Regions from separate parts of the Homo sapiens genome. Here region 2 is linked to region 1. The links are contacts of gene promoters, found by promoter capture Hi-C in human tissues and cell types (Jung and others, 2019). All regions are on one chromosome and are shown on one strand. The core of a region is centred on a gene start or on the middle of the fragment in contact, and the rest is flanking DNA. Distances in the headings are between cores, read along the strand shown.

Region 1 (5,272 bases), core at 998-3,497:
ATTATTCCCCAAATTTAGTGGCTTAAAGAAACAAACATTTATTATCTCATGTCTTCTAGGATAAAGAATTTAGCATAGCTAAATTCTAGCTCTGAGCAAGAGCTCAGAATCTTGCAAGGTTGAAATCAAGGTGTCAGCCAGGACTAGAGTCACCTCCAGGCTAGGCTGAGGGAAGATTCACGTCCAAGCTCACCACAAGCTTGTTGGCCAGATTTAGCTCCTTAGGGGCTGTTGATTTAAGGGCTTTAGTCCCTCACTGGTTATTGCCTGGAGGCATTAGCTATGTGATTCAATAGCTTCGCTCCATGTGGGCCTCTCCATTGGGAAGCTCAAAACATGGCAGCTCAATTGCTTCATCAGAGCAAACAAGTGAGAGATCTCGAAACTGAACAACACAGAAATCATTTATAACCTAATCCGAAAATGACATCCACCATATTTGCCGTCTTCTATTCATTAGACGTTGCTAAGTGATACTTCTAGTGACATCTAGAAGAGAAGAGGATGCCACTAGGCCACGAATACCAGGAGGGTCTCAGTGTAATCAGACTTTTTATATGAAGGCTCAGGGATCCAGGCACCAGTATTCCAGTGACCCAGCCTCAGAAGTTACACAGTGTCACTCTGCAGGCTACTGATCAAACCAGTCACAAGCCCACTTTTATTTCAAGGGAAGGAACAACGAATTCTGGAGCCATGTTTTCAAACTGCCCCAGCTATTATTATTTTTGAAACTGTGCAAGGATCCCCTGGTTCAGAGGTCTTATGGATGCTGTCATCTTTGCTGAGATACCTGCTTGTGCCTTCAGCATGGAAGAATGCCTGTGTATCCACCTGTACGGTAGGGGTCGCTGTGACTTTGACTGGTGAGGGTACAGCCACTGGTGCACATGCAAAGGTGCCTATCTGTGAACACGTATTGAGAGGCTGGATAAGGCTGCGCCCATGTGAGTGCTGGGCTTGTACGTGCATTTTTGCCTGAGTGAGCATTAGTGGCAGTGTCCCCAGCCTACCCCTTTCCTGAATCCCAGGCTCATAGCCAACTGCCCACCTATTTCCACGTGGATGCCTGCTGAGCACCTCAAATGTCACACAGCCAAGACAGAACTCTGGATCTCCTTTCCCAGCCACAAGCTGCCCCTCTTCCAGTCTGTAAGTTCTTACGGAGCATATATATGTGATCTGCCTACTTTTCTCCAACCTCACCACAGTGACATGAGCCCAAACCAACTTCTCACCTTGCAACAGCCTCCCAGGTGGGAAGGCTGAGTATTCTGGCCCTTAACCAGTTAGAACTCCCCAGTTATCTGTCCTGCTGATGGGGTTGAAATCTACATTCCTGACCCTGGCCCACCAAAGCCCCTCCCTTAGCTCCCATCTCCCTCCTCTCTCCCTGTCTTCTCCTCTGCTCCAGACACTCTGGCTTCATTTCTGCGTTTTTTGTACCCCATAAGCTCCTTCCCACCCCGGGGCCTTTGCCTTTGCTGTTCCCCCTGCGGGGAATGCCGGATCTCTGCTCAGATATCCTCTTCTCAGATCAGCAAGCTAAAGCAGCCACCTGTGTCTGCCTAACCCACCACCGTAGTTTAACTTTCTGCCTAGTCTTTATCACTAGCTGATATTTCTCAGGATCCTTTAGTTACTTCTTTTTCGTCTTCCCCTCCTAGAATGTAAACTCTTCCCCTCCTAGAAGGTAAACAAAAGACCTGTTCTGTTTTGTTCTTCGGCCCATCCCAAGCCTAGCGTAGTGCCTGGTATGTGGTGGTGTCCAAACCCAAGCGTGGAGTGAATGAGGGATGAATCCATGAGAGAGTGAGCGGCTCCAGTGGGTATGCGCGAGTGTCTCACTCGGTGTAGATGTGTGTGTTGTGTGTGTTGTGTGTGTGCGCACGCTGGGGAGGCCAGACAAGTGTGGACCAGTGATTGGGGCACCTCTTCCCTGCAAAGAGGCCAGGGGAAGACAGTGCGTGTGGGGTCTTCTACCAGGGAGGATGGCTTGCTGGTGTGTCCCCCCCAGGGGAGGACTACCAACGAAGGGGACCCGGGAGATGGCGGGTGGGGGCCCCCGGGAGGACAGTGGGCGAGGGAGGGGGTCCTTGCCAGGCCTGGGGCGGCCGGGGGCGGTCCTGGGCTCCCCTCCGTCCCGCCTCCAGGCCTCGGGGCCTGGCTGGCCGACGTGGCGTTGGCGGCGCTGCGCGCGGGAGGGCAGGGCAGGAGGGACAGAGGCGGGGGCGGGCCGGAAAGTTTGTCCGGCGGCAGCGGCGTTGGGGACTCCGGCGGGGGATGCGCGCCCGGCCCCTCAGCGCCCCCAGCACGCCGCCGAGTCCCGCTCGCCATGGGTAAGTCCCGATCGGGCGCTGCCTGCTGGAAGCCCGACCCCTTCCCAGGGTGTAGACACCGCCCCCACGCTCCCCTAAGAGTGCGCGCCCCCTGGCTCCCCCAGGGCCGCCCCGGCCGGATACCGCCTCTCGGGTGGCCAGCCCGAGACTGCAGGCCTGCGGCGGGGGCTGGGACGGGGCTCGGTCGCGCTTCCTTCCATCTTCCTTTCTGCCCCGGAAAAGTGGCCCCTCACTTGCTGCAGCGCCCACTCGGGCCCAGGCACTCTCCCGGGCGCCCTGATCCGACAGCCCCAGGCAAGTGCAGCTGTTCCTGGTCTGCAGATGAAGAAATGGAGGCTCCGAAAGAAGCAAAGCAGTTCATCGATTCGCTGAGCGCGGTTGTGCCCCAGGCGCTGTTGTGGGCCTGGGGACGCTGTCGCGAACGAAACTGCGAACAAAACAGACGAACCCCCTCCTCTGGACGTGATTCTGCAGAGAGGGGACAGAGAAGGAGATTCTAACACAGCATTGGGGTGGGACGCGTGGGGAATGGCTTTGTTGCCACTCGGGACTAGGGCTCTATTTTTCTCTCTGCATTCAGAAGCCTCGAAGGATCAGTCGTTGATTCTTGAGTGAGCACCTACTACGTGCCAGACATTGATATAGGGGTTAGAGCTTCAGCAATGAACAAAATAGACAATAAACCTCTCTCTCATGGAGGTGGCATTCTGATTGAGCAGCTGGGTAAACACGTTTATGAATAACTTCAGAGAGAGATAAGGTGTTGTGGAACCCATAAAATGGGGTGGCGTGAAGGCCAAGGGCGTGGGTTCCTTGGGTAGGTGGTCAGGGTGGGTTTTCTGGAGTAGGACGTTTTGGAGCTGAGAACTTCCTCAGAAGCGGGTCTTGCTGAGATCTGGAGAAAGAGCTTCCAGGTGGCAGCAACAGTGCAAAGGCCCTCAGGCAGGAATGAGTTTGTGTGGCCCAGGCCAGGATGGCCAGAGCACAGCGGGCAGGGCACTGAGGTCAAAGGGATGGCAGAGAGGTGTGCAGGGCTTTGTAAGCCGTGGTGAGAAGTTCAGATTTTATTGCAAATGCCACGGCAAGCTGGAGAAGGGTTTTAAGCTGGAGCGGGGCCGTGACCTGAATTATCTTTTCTTTTTTTTTTCTTTTTTTTGAGATGATCACTCTGTCGCCAGGCTGGAGTGCAGTGGCGTGATCCCGCTCACTGCAACCTCCAGCTCCCTGGTTCAAGCAATTCTCCTGCCTCAGCCTCCCAAGTAGCTGGGATTACAGGCATACACCACCACGCCCAGCTAATTTTTGTATTTTTAGTAGAGAGTGGGTTTCACCATGTTGGCCAGGATGTCTTGATCTCCTGACCTCGTGATCCGGCTGCCTCGGCTTGGGATTACAGGCGTGAGCCTCCGCGCCCGGCCCTGAATTAACTTCTCAAAGTTTGCTCTGAGTCGTTCTGTGGAGAATCACAGTCGCTAACACTGGCTATGATGTAGGTAAGCATAGAAGGTAGGCATTAATATCCCATTTGTAGATGGGGAAGCCCAGAGAGGTGAGGTGAGTTCCCCAAGGTCACACAGCTATGGAGAGGAGAAGCTGGGAAGGAGCCCCAGCATTCTGACTCCAGTCTGCATTCCTAACCACTGCACCACGTGGCCTGTCATGGTGGATTAATGGTAAAACTGGTGACCAGTTCCGGCTCTGACAGGAGAGTCCATCCTCTTAACCCCCACAGCACAGTGCCCCAGAGCCTGAGAAAAAAATGAGGCCCAGAGAGGTCAAGGTCTTCTTAAGGACACTCAGCTTAGCCCTAGCCCCTTGTTCCTGCACCTCCTATTCCTGCTAAATCAACCCAACAGCCATTTGCTGAGTGCCTTCTATGGGCAGAGCGAGGGCTGGGTGTTAGTGCTGGGGGAGGCATAAGTCATGGCTGCGGGTCTCTGTCCTCCCCAGAATTCTTACACAGCAGGGACCAGGGATTGGGCTCTCTTTATAGCCTCTGGGGGCAGAACTGGGTTCTAGACCCAATTCCTCTCACTTTGTTCCACCATTCCACTTTGACCTGGGAGAGTCTGCCAACTTCTCTGGTCACTATCAAATACCCTTATCACAGGGTAGCCATGAGAATGATGTGAAAAAATGAATTACAGTGCTCGGCTCATCACCTATATCTGGTAAATGGTGAGTGAATGTGAGTTTTTATTTTATATTGCACCCAATATTGGGATTCTGGAGTCAGACTGCCCGAGTTCAAGTTCCTGCTATGTGACTTACAAACTGTGCCACCTTGGGGAAATGTCTTCACCTCTCAGTGTGGTGGTTATTTCTGTAAAATGGGAATGACAATAGTGATTGTCATAGGATTGTCTAGGGATTAAGCCAGCTGGTACAGATACTGCCCCTTAGGAGAGTGGCTGGCTATAGTGGGTACTCCAAGTATCAGCTGTGGCTGCAATTGCTGGGACATTTGGAAGCCGGCCATCTGCAAGAGGATATTCATACAGTTCAATTTCACATCTGGCTTCTCCCTGGAGCTTCAGGGAAAGCCACAGCAGGTCTCTGGTGCAGGAGGGACCCAGTGCTCTGTGACCTCTGGTTGAGACACTACTCTAGTGTCACCAACGGGAGGCCTAGGACTTGCAGCTGGAGATACTTGCATCCCAAACCAGGGTTCTCCCCCCTCCCCCTGCCCCCTGACCCTGTCCCGGGGAAGCTGTGCCCTCCACAGCGAGGGGCTTAGAGGATTAAGGGATTTCCTCCAGTGTGGGACATCTTCACTACAGCCTATGTTAGGCAGGTTATTAATAGAAAGGATGCACACTTGCTAAACTTAGGTCAAGCCGTCTTAATGTGTTCTCCTTAATTTTCTTTCTTTTCTTTTTTTCTCTTTCTTTCTTTCTGTCTTCTTTCTTTCTTTTTTTTTTTTTTTTTTTTTT
Region 2 (5,272 bases), core at 1,783-4,282, 460 kb after region 1:
ACAGAGGTGCAAGGTCCTATGCAGAGGCGAGAACGGCAGTTGCACTTTGTCACCTGCCACAAAGTTGCTGTGCCTGGGCCCATGTGTGTCAAGGACTCTGGAAACAAGCCTCACCTTTCATCAAAACCCTTTCTAATCTGAGGCCCTTTCAAGGGGCTGGAGAGGGACCAGCAGCCACACTACCCCCTTGCCAACCCCTCTCTCAGATTCCAGCCCAGCTCCCCACAGGGCAACCCAGGCTGCCCCAGATGCCACTGACCCCTCTCTTGCCTCCCTAAACATCACCATAACAACAAGACTACCTTACGTATCTTTTAAAAATTAATGAGGAGGCCTGTAATTCTACCACTTTGGGAGGCCACAGCGGGAGGATCACTTGAGCCCAGAAATTCAAGACCAGCCTGGGCAACATATTGAGACCCTATCTCTATTTTTCAAAAAAAGAAAAAAAATGAATGAGGCAGGGGCTTCCCACCATCCCCCTGCAAAGCTTATATTCTCAAAGATAAATTCAAGCCTTTTGGCCAGGCACGGTGGCTCATGCCTGCAATCTTAGCACTTCGGGAGGCCAAGACTAGAGGATCTCTTGAGGCCAGGAGTTTGAGACCAGCCTGGCCAACATAGCAAAACCTCATCTCTACTCAAAATACAAAAATTAGCTAGGCATGGTGGCACACACCTGTAGTCCCAACTACTCGAGAGGCTGAGGCTTGAGAATCACCTAAACCTGGGAGGTGGTGGCAGTGAACTGAGATTGTGCCACTGCACTCCAGCTTGGGTGACAGAGCAAGACTGTCTAAAAAAAAAAAAAAAAAAAAAAAAAAAAAAAAAAAAAAGCTTTTTGCTTGTCCAATTGTCTAAAAAGAGATCTGTTCAAAATGTTGCAAATACCCTTTCTTCCAATTTCTCTACTCCCATCAAGGTTCCAGAGATGTTACAACCAATTTTTTCTCAGTAGTCAAGCTCAGAGTCCCACGTGCTTCTCCTCCTCCAGCAGCCTTTGTAAGGAGGCAGCTGCCTCGAGAAATCACCTTGCAACTAAACTGTGGGAAAATGTGTAAGATCTTAACACAGTGGTAGAAACTAACATGTATGCAGTAGCCACTGTGCACCCGACACTGTTCTCGGTGCTCTCATGCAGCATCTCGCTTCTCCTCACCTCATCTGGAGGTGGGTTCAGTTATCAGGTCCATTTATCAGTCAGGCCTCTGGGGTTCATGAGGGTCATGCCCCTCACTCAAGGTCACACACTGGGAAGCGGTTGGATCCAGGATCCAGGCCCAGGCAGTCAGATTCCAGAGCCTGCACCCTGAACCAGTACCGCAGGGGCTGGCACCCCCGCACATTTTTTGCCCCATCAACATATTATCATGTCACTCCGCCAGCATCATGAAGTGCACTCATGATATGTTTGCCCCATCAGCGTGTCACGAGGGCATTTCATGATGCAGGCGGGGTTGGCAGGTGTGCATCGTGTAGGCTCCACATGGGACATGGCATCCCTTACGACTCTTGGCTGCAAAGTGCCAGAAACCCAGCTCCACTCACTTAATCTGAAAAGTGGGTGTATTTGTTCGCCAGGGCTGCTGTAACAAATTTCCCCCAGTTACTGGCTTCGAACAACACACACGTGTCCTCTTACAGTTCTGGAGGTCAGGCTCTGAGAGGAGAATCGGTTTTTTTACTTTTTTTTTTTTTTTTTTTGAGACAGAGTCTCGCTCTGTCGCCCAGGCTGGCGTGCAGTGGTGTGATCTCAGCTCACTGCAGCCTCCTGCCTCCCAGGTTCAAGCTATTCTCGTGCCTCAGCCTCCCAAGTAGCTGGGACCACAGATGTGCACCACCATGCCCAGCTAATTTTTTGTATTTTTAGTAGAGGTGGGGTTTCTCCATGTTGGCCAGGCTGGTCTCAAACTCCTGGCCTCAAGTGATCCACCCGCCTCAGCCTCCCAAAATGCTGAGATTACAGGTGTAAGCCACCACACCTGGCCCTTTGGTTTTTTGTTTGTTTTAGTTTTTCTTTCAGTGGCCACTTGTGTATGTTGACTGTGGTCTCTTCTTCCATCTTCAAAGCACATGACTCCAGTCACCCTCTCCTTTCTGTCATCAGATCACTGTCTCTCTTACAGGGACCCATGTGATTCCATTTAGGGCCCACCCCGACAGCCAAGGAAAAACTTCCCACCTCAAGATCTCTAACTGAACTAAAGTCCTGATTGCCATTTAAAGTAATAGATTTGCAGGTTCCGAGATAAGAATGTGCGCATCTTTGGGGGTTCGTTATTCGGCCCAGCACAGTCAGGGATGGCTCAGCTTCAGTCCTGACTGGATCCAGGGGATCAGATCGCATGCTCATGGCATCCCCCTCTCCAGCTCGCAGCCCTGCTTTCCTCAGCAGCTCCCGGCTTAATCCACCATTCAGCAGCCCCAGGGAAGAGACAGCACCTCTTCCAAAAGTGCCAGCCAACGTCCCCGGGCTGGTTCCCATTGGCCCACCTTAGACCACATGTTCATCCTTGAAGCAATCACTGTGGCCAGGGGGACCTTGGGTCCCTCTGATTGGTTTTCATTGTCCCCACCCCGTAGTCTTTTGTTTTTTTGTTTTTTTGTTTTTTTTGAGACAGAGTCTTGCTCTGTCATGCAGGCTGGAGCACAGTGGCGCGATCTCGGCTCACTACAACCTCCACTTGCTGGGTTCAAGCAGTTCTCCTGCCTCAGCCTCCCGAGTAGCTGGGATTACAGGCAGCTGCCACCACGCCCAGCTAATTTGTGTATTTTAGTAGAGACAGGGTTTCATCATGTTGGCCAGGCTGGTCTCAAACTCCTGACCTCAAACAATCCACCCGCCTGTCTCCCACAGTGCTAGGATTACAGGCATGAGCCACCATGCCCAGCCTCCACCCCATGGTCTTGTCCCACAGAGAGAGGTGTTTCCCCAAGGAAACTGAGTGGGAAACAGCATGGCATTGGAGTTTGTTCAATGGCAAGCCCTGGGGATAGTGCCTGGCACATAGTAAGTGCTCAGTAAATGATGATCACAGATCATGAGGCACAGCAGGTGTCCCTCCAGGAGCCAATACTTGAAGAGCACAGGGTTTACTAAGCAGATGTAGGCAGGAGAGCATTTCAAGCAGGGGGAACACCTTTAGCGAGGCAGAGGTGTCCACCATATGGCCAGGGTGACCAAATGTCTGGCCATACTTGGGAAGCTGGGGACCTAGGGGAGTCCTGGTTTGAACCTATCCCCCTAGTATAATACCATCCCCCTTTAATGCAAAACTCTCTCTGTTTGGAGAGTATCTGTATGGTCACTTTCCTTGCAGTCAACCTGCTCATTTATAAGGAAACCAAACAGACAAAGAGGATGAGATTGAACCCAAGGACCTCTAACCTTGAGTATCCAAATCCAGACTAGAACCCGAGCCTGATGACTCCCAGTGCAGTGCTCATCCCAGCCCTCAGCTTATGAGGCCAACCCTTGAAGGCTACATCAGATTAACCAGGCATGTTCTCTCTCTCTCTCTCTCTCTGTCAAATTTTCCATAGGATTGTGACCAGATCCACGTTGATGACGTCTCATCAGATGACAATGGCCAAGATTTAAGGTGGGAATTTGGGGAGTCAAAAATGCCCATTGATTGATTGATTGATTATCAAGTTATCCTTCTACTAGGAAGTGGGGTGGGAGAGGAGGGCTGCTTATAAGGACAAGGAGTGCCTGCCTCCAGCCAGAACTGGGACTTTTGCATCTCAGACTCAAAAATCACAACTAGGCGGGTGTGGTGGCTCATACTTGTAATCCCAGCACTTTGGGAGGTCTTAGCAGGAGGATCACTTGAGCTCAGGAGTTCAAAACCAGCCTGAGCAACATAGTGAGACCCCCATCTCTACTATAATAAATAAATGAGTAAAAATTTGTTTAAAAAATCACAACCTCACCCCTCAACCCTACAGTCTCTTGCTCATCACCTCAAATCACTAAACTCTGCTCATTTATTGCTATTTTTTTCCTGCTTACTGAAGTAATGCATGCATAACAGAAAAAATTCAAACACTTAACCTGACCTCACCTCCCAAACTCACCACCATTAAGAGTTTAGTATATATTCTTCAAAGATCTGCTCAAAATGTTGAAAATACCCTTTCTTTCAGCTTCTCTCCTCCAATCAAGGGTCCGGAGATGTTATAACCAATTTTTTCTCAGTAGTCAAGCTCAGAGTTTCACGTGCTTCTCCTCCTCCAGCAGTCTTCGTAAGGAGGCAGCTGCCTCCAAATATTTGGTTGTATTCATTAGCATACATATATATATTTTTTTCTTTTTCTTTTTTTTGAGGCTGACTTTCACTCTTGTCACCCAGGCTGGAGTGCAATGGTGTGATCTCAGCTCACTGCAACCTCCACCTCCCAGGCTCAAGCAATTCTCCTGCCTCAGCCTCCTGAGTAGCTGGGATTACAGTCATGCACCACCACACCCAGCTAATTTTTTTGTTTTTTTAGTAGAGGCGGGGTTTCACCATATTGGCCAGGCTGGTCTCAAACTCCTAACCTCAAGTGATCTACCCACCTCAGCCTCCCAGAGTGCTGGGGTTACAGGCGTGAGCCACCGCACCCGACCAGCATGCATATATTTTTAATATAACAATTGATACAGCCAATACTTAAGAAACACTTCTCAAATGAATAAGTGGTGTGTCTGGTTTCTAGGGGAAAACACTCCCAGGACATGGCTTCCAGGAATCAGGTAACCCATTGCTTAATATGAGACACCTTCAGGCCGGGTGTGGTGGCTCACGCCTGTAATCCCAGCACTTTGGGAGGCCAAGGCGCAAGGATCACCTGAGGTCAGGAGTTCGAGACCAGCCTGGCCAACACAGTGAAACCCCATCTCTACTAAAAATACAAAAATTAGCCGGGCGTGGTGGCGGGCGCCTGTAATCCCAGCTACTTGGGAGGCTGAGGCAGGAGAATTGCTTGAACCCAGGAGGCGGAGGTTGCAGCGAGCCGAGATCGTGCCACTGCACTCCAGCCTGGGGTACAGAGCGAGACTCCGTCTCAAAAAAAAAAAAAAAAGAGAGACAGCTTCCAGAGGAATGTGGGCTGGAATGTTCCAAGCCTGCCCCTGGGAAAACTTTGTAAAAATGGAACCATAGTTAATCTGTGCTCATCCAAAATTACCACAATTCAACGGCTTTAGGCTCATCAGATATATTATTAGACCAACTAATGTTTTGGTTACGGGATCAGTCATTGTAACTTTATTTAGTAGCTGCTTCCA

The links. Contacts are between HindIII fragments. The study calls those that stand out against the background at their distance.
Region 2: a fragment that was not itself captured here is called in contact with the fragment with the promoter of SLC2A10 in region 1 in 1 of the 25 tissues and cell types used here (H1 embryonic stem cells).

What each region holds. Positions count from the first base shown.
Region 1 is chr20:46,707,402-46,712,673 of GRCh38, forward strand. SLC2A10 (solute carrier family 2 member 10) reads left to right here and starts at 2,248. Exons shown (of 5, transcript NM_030777.4): 1 at 2,248-2,339. The coding sequence starts at 2,336. The HindIII fragment of the contact is 11,113 bases long and covers 1-5,272 here.
Region 2 is chr20:47,165,596-47,170,867 of GRCh38, forward strand. It overlaps EYA2 (EYA transcriptional coactivator and phosphatase 2), which reads left to right. Exons shown (of 16, transcript NM_005244.5): 11 at 3,544-3,602. It overlaps MIR3616 (microRNA 3616), which reads left to right and starts at 1,372; the gene lies at 1,372-1,463. The HindIII fragment of the contact is 9,518 bases long and covers 1-5,272 here.